Linked DNA regions of Homo sapiens: region 2 is linked to region 1. Evidence: promoter capture Hi-C in 16 types of primary human blood cells and fetal thymus (Javierre and others, 2016). All regions are on one chromosome and are shown on one strand. The core of a region is centred on a gene start or on the middle of the fragment in contact, and the rest is flanking DNA. Distances in the headings are between cores, read along the strand shown. Region 1 holds the start of COL25A1 (collagen type XXV alpha 1 chain). Region 2 has its middle 31 kb from the start of OSTC.

Region 1 (3,665 bases), core at 192-2,691:
TAGTGGTAGTAGCAGTTTCTGATTCAGATCTGTGGTAGGAACCTAGAATTTTAATGTCCAAGTTCTCAGGTGATGCTGATGTTATTGGTCTAGGACCATCCTTTGAGAACCACTGTGTAATACAAATGAATTATGGTTTTGACTTTATAGCCAAATTCATTGAGTTTTCCTCCAATGTTAGTCTCTTTCTTCCTCTAATGCTGTTATTTCCTTACCTTGCTTCACACCTAGCAATATCCGTTTACACATGTGAAAGACCAACTTAGTGAAGTATTTTGTTGACTGTTTACAATAGTAAGCAACGACTTCAGGTTAGCTTAATTAAGGAGAATAGGAAAAATATATGGTTTTTTTTTTTATAGGGAGATAAGAAGGAACTCTTTGGAATAAGAGGTGGGATTTCTGTTTTCCCCAAAGTCAATTAGATGTCAAATGCTACTTGTTACCAACTTTCCAAAATCCCATTAGAGACCTTGTAATTTGATCCAGAGAGAACAGCATTAAGAGTCAGGTAAAAGGAAAAACTGACTTCATTCTTCATTCCTTTCCTAAATCCTGAGAAATGTGTATACCTCAACACTCCCTTTTCCAATCCCGCAAAACAGGGAATCAGGAAAACACATTAGCACCCTAGTACAGACTAGGAATACAGAGCTGGGAGGAGACTCAGTGCCGTCAAGACAAGGAAACTGGGGGAGGGGAAGGAAAACTTCCCCTCGTTGGACAATCTGAGGGCTGCAGTGGGAAGAGAAGGGAAGTGGGGAAATGTACCTCAGACGTCGGCCAGACACTTTGCCTCTGGGCATGTGGGAAAGTGAGGGAGGAGGGAAAAGCGCTGCACCACAGCGAGATAGCAACAGCTCCTGCGGCTGCTTTTGAGTGAAGATCAGTAGAGATAGAGCGTGCCGCTTCACATCTTCCTCCCGGAGGCCATTTCTCCATTTTTATGTGGGATAAAAAGGGGGCGCTGGGCTGAGTCAGTATAAGCCAAAGTTGCCGCCTCTTGCGCAGCCGACCCCGCTTCGGCCCCGGCCCAGGCCAGAGAGGTGGCCCTCGGAGATGCTGAAGTTACTCCGCGCAGGGGGAGGGGTCGCCAGGCTCCTCTCCAATCACGGTGGCCGCTCCAGCTATTTGCATACATTATGCTAATAACAGACCTCCTGCCCCGCTCCCACCCAAGCTTCCCGCCTCCCTTGGGGGTTCCCCGGGCCGGCCCGCGGGCTGGGCCAAGGTGAATACATTATGATAATAAGGCGGGCTCCTGCTTTGCCTTCGGAAGGGGGGCGCGCAGCAGCGGGAGCGGCAGGCCGGACGCCGGGCGCCGGGAGGGGGTCGGGGGAGGGACGTCGTGCTCGGAGCGCGCGCGCACTCACACACTCACACACACACTCACGCGAGCATCGCGAAGGGTATTTAAGGATCGCGCACGCGGGGCTGCGGAGATCCTTCGGGCAGCCGCGACTTCGGCTTCGCGAGTAGCATTGGTTCCTTGGGTTTATTTCGTTTTCCTCTCTCTTCTCCACCTTAGTCGCCCCTTTCGCGCTGCGCTGTAGCGTGCTCTCACAGCCTTTTTGCCTTGAACTGAATGCAGGTGGGAAACAGGTCGGCGTGCCGAAAGACACCGAGTAGGTAGAAATAAGGCAAACTCACAGAGGCGCAACAGGTCCGGTCCTCCGTGGCCAGGGCGAGCCGCGGCCCCGCGTGGCGCCTCGGCCGTTGCCCTCGGACCCTGAGCGGCCACTGTTGGGGCCCTCGAAAGAGGTGTCGGTCCTCTGGGAGTCGGAAGAGCTGTCTGGGTGGGTTTCGTCTTGCTTTTTACCCCACCGCCACCCAGTCCCCGGACGGAGGGTGCTTTTCACTTCCAGCTGGGAGGAGAGAAGAAAGCGGGGATGGTGCACGCCTGCGGGTCTGGACGCTGAGCAAGGCAGGGGTCCGTATCCGCTCGTGGGCTTGACTCCACCAACTAGTTGTGCAGCCACAGGGACTGAACTTTGGAGGAATCGACCTTTTTCTTTCCTTTTAGGATTATTTGAGGTGTAGAGGGTGGGAAGCGAAGCCGAGACGGCCGACCCCGCCACGATGCTGCTGAAGAAGCACGCAGGGAAAGGAGGGGGCCGGGAGCCCAGATCCGAGGACCCGACCCCTGCCGAACAGCATTGTGCCCGGACCATGCCCCCGTGTGCCGTCCTGGCGGCCCTCCTGTCAGTGGTGGCCGTGGTGTCTTGCCTGTACCTGGGTGTGAAAACCAACGACCTCCAGGCGAGGATCGCCGCTCTCGAATCCGCCAAAGGGGCCCCTTCCATTCATCTGCTGCCTGATACCCTGGATCACCTCAAGACTATGGTGCAAGAGAAAGTGGAGCGACTTCTGGCTCAGGTGTGAGAGGCTGGGGTATTTTGCACGTGGGTAACATCTTGTACAAGCGTGACTCTGTGTGCATGACTAGCCGCTACCCTTACTGTACCCATACTTGGTGTGGCTGTGTGTGTGCGCGCGCGTGCATGTGTTGGCCAAGGATCTATGCTCACTGTAGCATATATTTATATGTGCACATCCCTTGATGTCCCCATCCCTATCTCTAATCTTCCCTCACTCTCTCTTAATGTTTGCGTGTTAAACACATAGGAAGGTCTAAAAGGGTTCGGAAAGGGCATTTTATCTCTTTTTAGTTGTCCTAAGTCAAACCCAATTGTGGAGAGAATATTTCTTGCAGAGATAGCATCTGTTAAATCTTTTACATGTTGTAAGATGGTTAGGGTCATAGATGTTATTAATATATAAAAAAGGTAATCACTCTTAAATGTAAAATAATGTCATATATAATTTAAAATCAATAATTTCACACGTTGAATCTTTTCATATTAAAAGTTTAAACTTTTTTTTTTTAAAGTAGCTTTATTTTTGGTAAAGGATGCAGTGCCGGGGTATTTATGAATGCAGAGCCCTTGGAATTGAGAGTTGAGAGGAATCTATGTTATGTGTAAGGGTACCTTTAGACTAGAGTAAGGGGGTTTTCTGGAACCTTACCCTAGCCGGGAGCCTATTTGGCAGTAGTTGCAGCCTAGCATGATAAATAAAGCAGTTGACCTTCATGTATAAAATATTGGCTGTTATTGGTAAGCCACAGCTTACCTAATACTGCAACATTTTAGTGCTAGGTTTTTACATTGACTGCATATGCTTGAGCTGAGGGAGAGAGTGGTGGTAGAGAAGAATGGAGAAAGATGTTATACAAGTCCAGCAATCTTGATACCCTATCAGTGGTCATTTTCTTTTTTTAGGACTTAGGCATGGTTACTTTCTTGACTAGAGTCCAAGTACATATGTAAATGTTAGTTATGCAGGTTATGAAATGCCGGTAAATCAGGCGTATGGCCAGAGTCCCTAAAGACTCCATCCCTCTACAGTGCTACTGATGATTATTAATAACTCTTCTTTTCCTACAGAAATCCTATGAACATATGGCTAAAATAAGAATCGCAAGAGAAGCACCTTCAGAATGTAACTGCCCAGCAGGTAAAATGGAACTTATTTAACAAGGTTTCCTCCAGAGCAGAGCATTTTAAAACAAAGGTCCTGTGTCTGTCAAGTCTACCTGTAATAATAGTAAAGAAAGAATGCAGACCCAACTTGCTTTAATAAAATCAACATGTCTCATTCAAAAG
Region 2 (3,478 bases), core at 699-3,198, 620 kb after region 1:
AAAAAAGAATAAGGCTGTGCACGGTGGCTCACGCTGGTAATCCCAGCAGTTTGGGAGGCCGAGGTGGGCAGATCACCTGAGGTCAGGAGTTCGAGACCAGCCTGGGCCAACATGGCAAAACCCTATTTCTACTAAAAATACAAAAATTAGCCGGGCCTTGTGGTGTGTGCCTGTAATCTCAGCTACTTGGGAGGCTGAGGTAGGAGAATCACTTGAACCCGGGAGGCGGAGGTTGCAGTAAGCCGAGATCACACCACTGCACTCCAGCCTGGGTAACAGAGCGAGACTCCATCTCAAAAAAAAAAAAAAAAAAAAAAATAATAATAATAAATAAGTAGCATTTCTTGGATAAGCTGTTTTAAAAACACAAGCTTTCATTTGCTGCCTGGAAAGATTGTTCTGGGCTCTGTTTCCTCTAAATTCAGCTTAGAAACAGAACAAACCTTAGTTCATCTGTCTCTTCTTATATTTCACAATATACAGTACAAGACAGTTGACTTGGCACTTTCTACTTCCTCCCTAGCTGGATCAATGAGTTCATTAGGTGCCCTTTCTATGCCCTCCCACCACCCCTGCCTCACATGGTTAGAGCATTAGCAAATTTCGCCTTTACCTAACAAAGGTCCCTTCTCTTCAGCCTCTAAGGTCATTGACCTCACTGTCTTGAAGCATCAACAGCTCCACTTTCTTTTTTTTTTTTTTTGAGACGGAGTCTCGCTCTGTCGCCCAGGCTGGAGTGCAGTGGCGCGATCTCGGCTCACTGCAAGCTCCGCCTCCCAGGTTCACGCCATTCTCCTGCCTCAGCCTCCCAAGTAGCCGGGACTACAGGCGTCCGCCACCGTGCCCAGCTAATTTTTTGTATTTTTAGTAGAGACGGGGTTTCACCGTGTTAGCCAGGATGGTCTCGATCTCCTGACCTCTATCCGCCTGCCTCGGCCTCCCAAAGAGCTGGGATTACAGGCGTGAGCCACCGTGCCCGGCCAACAGCTCCACTTTCATTGTCTTCTCCAGGCCTTTCTGGCTTTTATTTTTCATCTCTTCAAGACCCTGGAAGTTTCAATCCACTGTTTGGTCCTAAAGCCACACATTCATCCCAGTTCTTGATTGCTCATTAAAAGCAAGCCGAACATTTAGTGGCTGAAAACAGTTTATTCCTATTTCCCAAGGTCCTGCAGGCTGACTGGACTCAGCTGAGTAGTTCTCCCTTGGGGTATCTCACACAGTTGTAGTCAGATGGCAGCTGGGCTAATGTCCATGAAGGCTCCTTTGCAGGACTGGCAGTTGATTGTAGCAGCCAGCTCCGAGCTCAGCTGATGTTGACAGGATTGGCGACATGTGGTTTTTCCATGTGTTTTGGGGTGCTCATGATCCTGCAGCTGGGTTCCAAGAGGGTGCATCCCAAGAACCAGCATTCTCAGACGCAGGAAGCAGAAGCTGCCAAGCTGTTTAAAAACTATGCCCAGCACTGGCAGTCACTTTTGCCATCTTTAACCAGGAAAAGCGATGACAAGGCTGGCCACATTCCACGAACAAGAGAAATCATCTTCTCTTAATAAGGAGCAGCAAGGTCACTTTGTATAAAACATATGAGTTAGGAGTTACTGCTGCAGTCACTTTTGGAAATGACAATCTGCCATTTATAGATGTTTTTAAAAATTCCTATCAACTCAAAAATAATTAGAAGGGGAAATAAACCTTGAAAAGTTAGACAAATAGAATAAAGTGAAGAGGAGATATAGAAAAGTCCAAATATATAATACAGACAGTCCCCGACTTACATTAGTTAAATTTATGACAACTTTATGACAGTGTGAAAGTGTGAAAGTGATAGACATTCAGTAGAAATCATACTTCTAGTACCCATACAACCATTCTGTTTTTCATTTTCAGTAGCATTTTCAATAAATTACGTGAGATATTCAACACTTTATTATAAGATAAACTTTGTGTTAGATGACTTTTCCTAACTAGGGGCTATGTAAGTGTTCCGATCATATTTAAGTTAGACTAGGTTAAACTATGATGTTCAATAGATTAAGTATATTAAATGCATTTTTAACTTTCTATATTTCCAACTAGTAATGGGTTTATTCGGACATGACTCCATCGTAAATTGAGGAGCATCTGTAATCATAATTCCTGAAAGTAGACTGAACTCACTCATTAAAAGACAAGATTGACAGAATAAAACAAAAATAAATCTATATGATATTCATAAGTGATACCCCTAAAATATAAGAACGAAAAAAGTTTCAAAGAAAGTTATAGAAAACAATACATGGCAAAACAACATCTGCAAAGGGTTGAGTCAGCTATATGAACATGAGAGTCCATCAACTTTGAGACAAAAAATTACTATGCTATGAGGAGAGTCACTACACAATGATGAAAACTTGAATTCACCAGAAAGATATGACAATCAGATTTTGTAAAACTGACAATATATTTAAAAATTACAATCATGGTAGAAGATACAACACACAACTTTATTATTATTATTATTATTATTTTTCTTTTTTGAGACGGAGTCTCGCTCTGTCACCCAGGCTGAGAGTGCAGTGGTACGATCTCGGCTCACTACAAGCTCCGCCTCCCGAGTTCAAGCGATTCCCCTGCCTCAGCCTCCCGAGTAGCTGGGACTACAGGCACACACCACCATGCTCGGCTAATTTTTGTGTTTTTAGTAGAGATGGGGTTTCACCGTGTTGGCCAGGCTGGTCTCGAACTCCTGACCACAGGTGATCCACCCGCCTCGGCCTTCCACAGTACTGAGATTACAGGCGTGAGGCACCGTGCCTGGCCCACAACTTTAAATTATTGATGTGTCAAGCAATAACTCAATTGATGTGTCAAGCAAAACAAAATGATATTTAGGTATTCATATATATGTGTTAACACTATTCTTTAAAAAGCAAAGAAGTGCTTTTATATGCATTGAAATACAAAGATAAAAAAGCAAAGATGTGATAAACACCAATTCAGGGCAGTAGATGCTTCTAGAAGGAAGGGAGGGAAGTGGATAAGGATAGAATACAAAGATAGTATTAAGAGTATTGGCAATATTTTAATTCTTATATTGGGTTATAGGTTCACAGGACTTTATGCATTTTATTATGCTTTATAATGTATGACTGCTTCATATATGTTTGAGTATATTAAATATTATAAAGTAAAATGTATGTAAAAGGAGGCCATGTGCTGTGGCTCACACCTATAATCCCACACTTTGGGAGGCTGAGATGAGAGGATTGCTTGAGCCCAGGAGTTCAAGACCAGCCTGAGCAATATAGTGAGACCTCATCTCTACAAAACAAAACAAACAAACAAAATTTAAAAACTAGCCAGGTGTGGTGGCACATGACTTTAGTCCCAGCTACTCGGGAGGCTGAGGCAGAAGGATTGCTTGGGCTCGGAGGTCAAGGCTGCAGTGAGCCAAGATTGTGCCATTGCACTCCAGCCTGAGAGACAGAGCAAGACT

Evidence for each region. The method cuts DNA at HindIII sites, captures the fragments that hold promoters and counts their contacts. A CHiCAGO score of 5 or more calls a contact.
Region 2: a fragment that was not itself captured here is called in contact with the fragment with the promoter of COL25A1 in region 1 in 1 of 17 cell types (M2 macrophages); the score reaches 6.9 in M2 macrophages.

Annotation. Positions count from the first base shown.
Region 1 is chr4:109,300,434-109,304,098 of GRCh38, reverse strand. COL25A1 (collagen type XXV alpha 1 chain) reads left to right here and starts at 1,441. Exons shown (of 38, transcript NM_198721.4): 1 at 1,441-1,930; 2 at 2,024-2,376; 3 at 3,447-3,516. The coding sequence starts at 2,080. It overlaps COL25A1-DT (COL25A1 divergent transcript), which reads right to left and starts at 1,064. Exons shown (of 3, transcript NR_160939.1): 1 at 772-1,064. RefSeq lists an enhancer at 587-1,369. The HindIII fragment of the contact is 6,447 bases long and covers 1,183-3,665 here.
Region 2 is chr4:108,679,363-108,682,840 of GRCh38, reverse strand. No RefSeq gene overlaps it. Among named protein-coding and RNA genes, the nearest start is that of OSTC, 31 kb to the right of the region's middle. The HindIII fragment of the contact is 3,149 bases long and covers 374-3,478 here.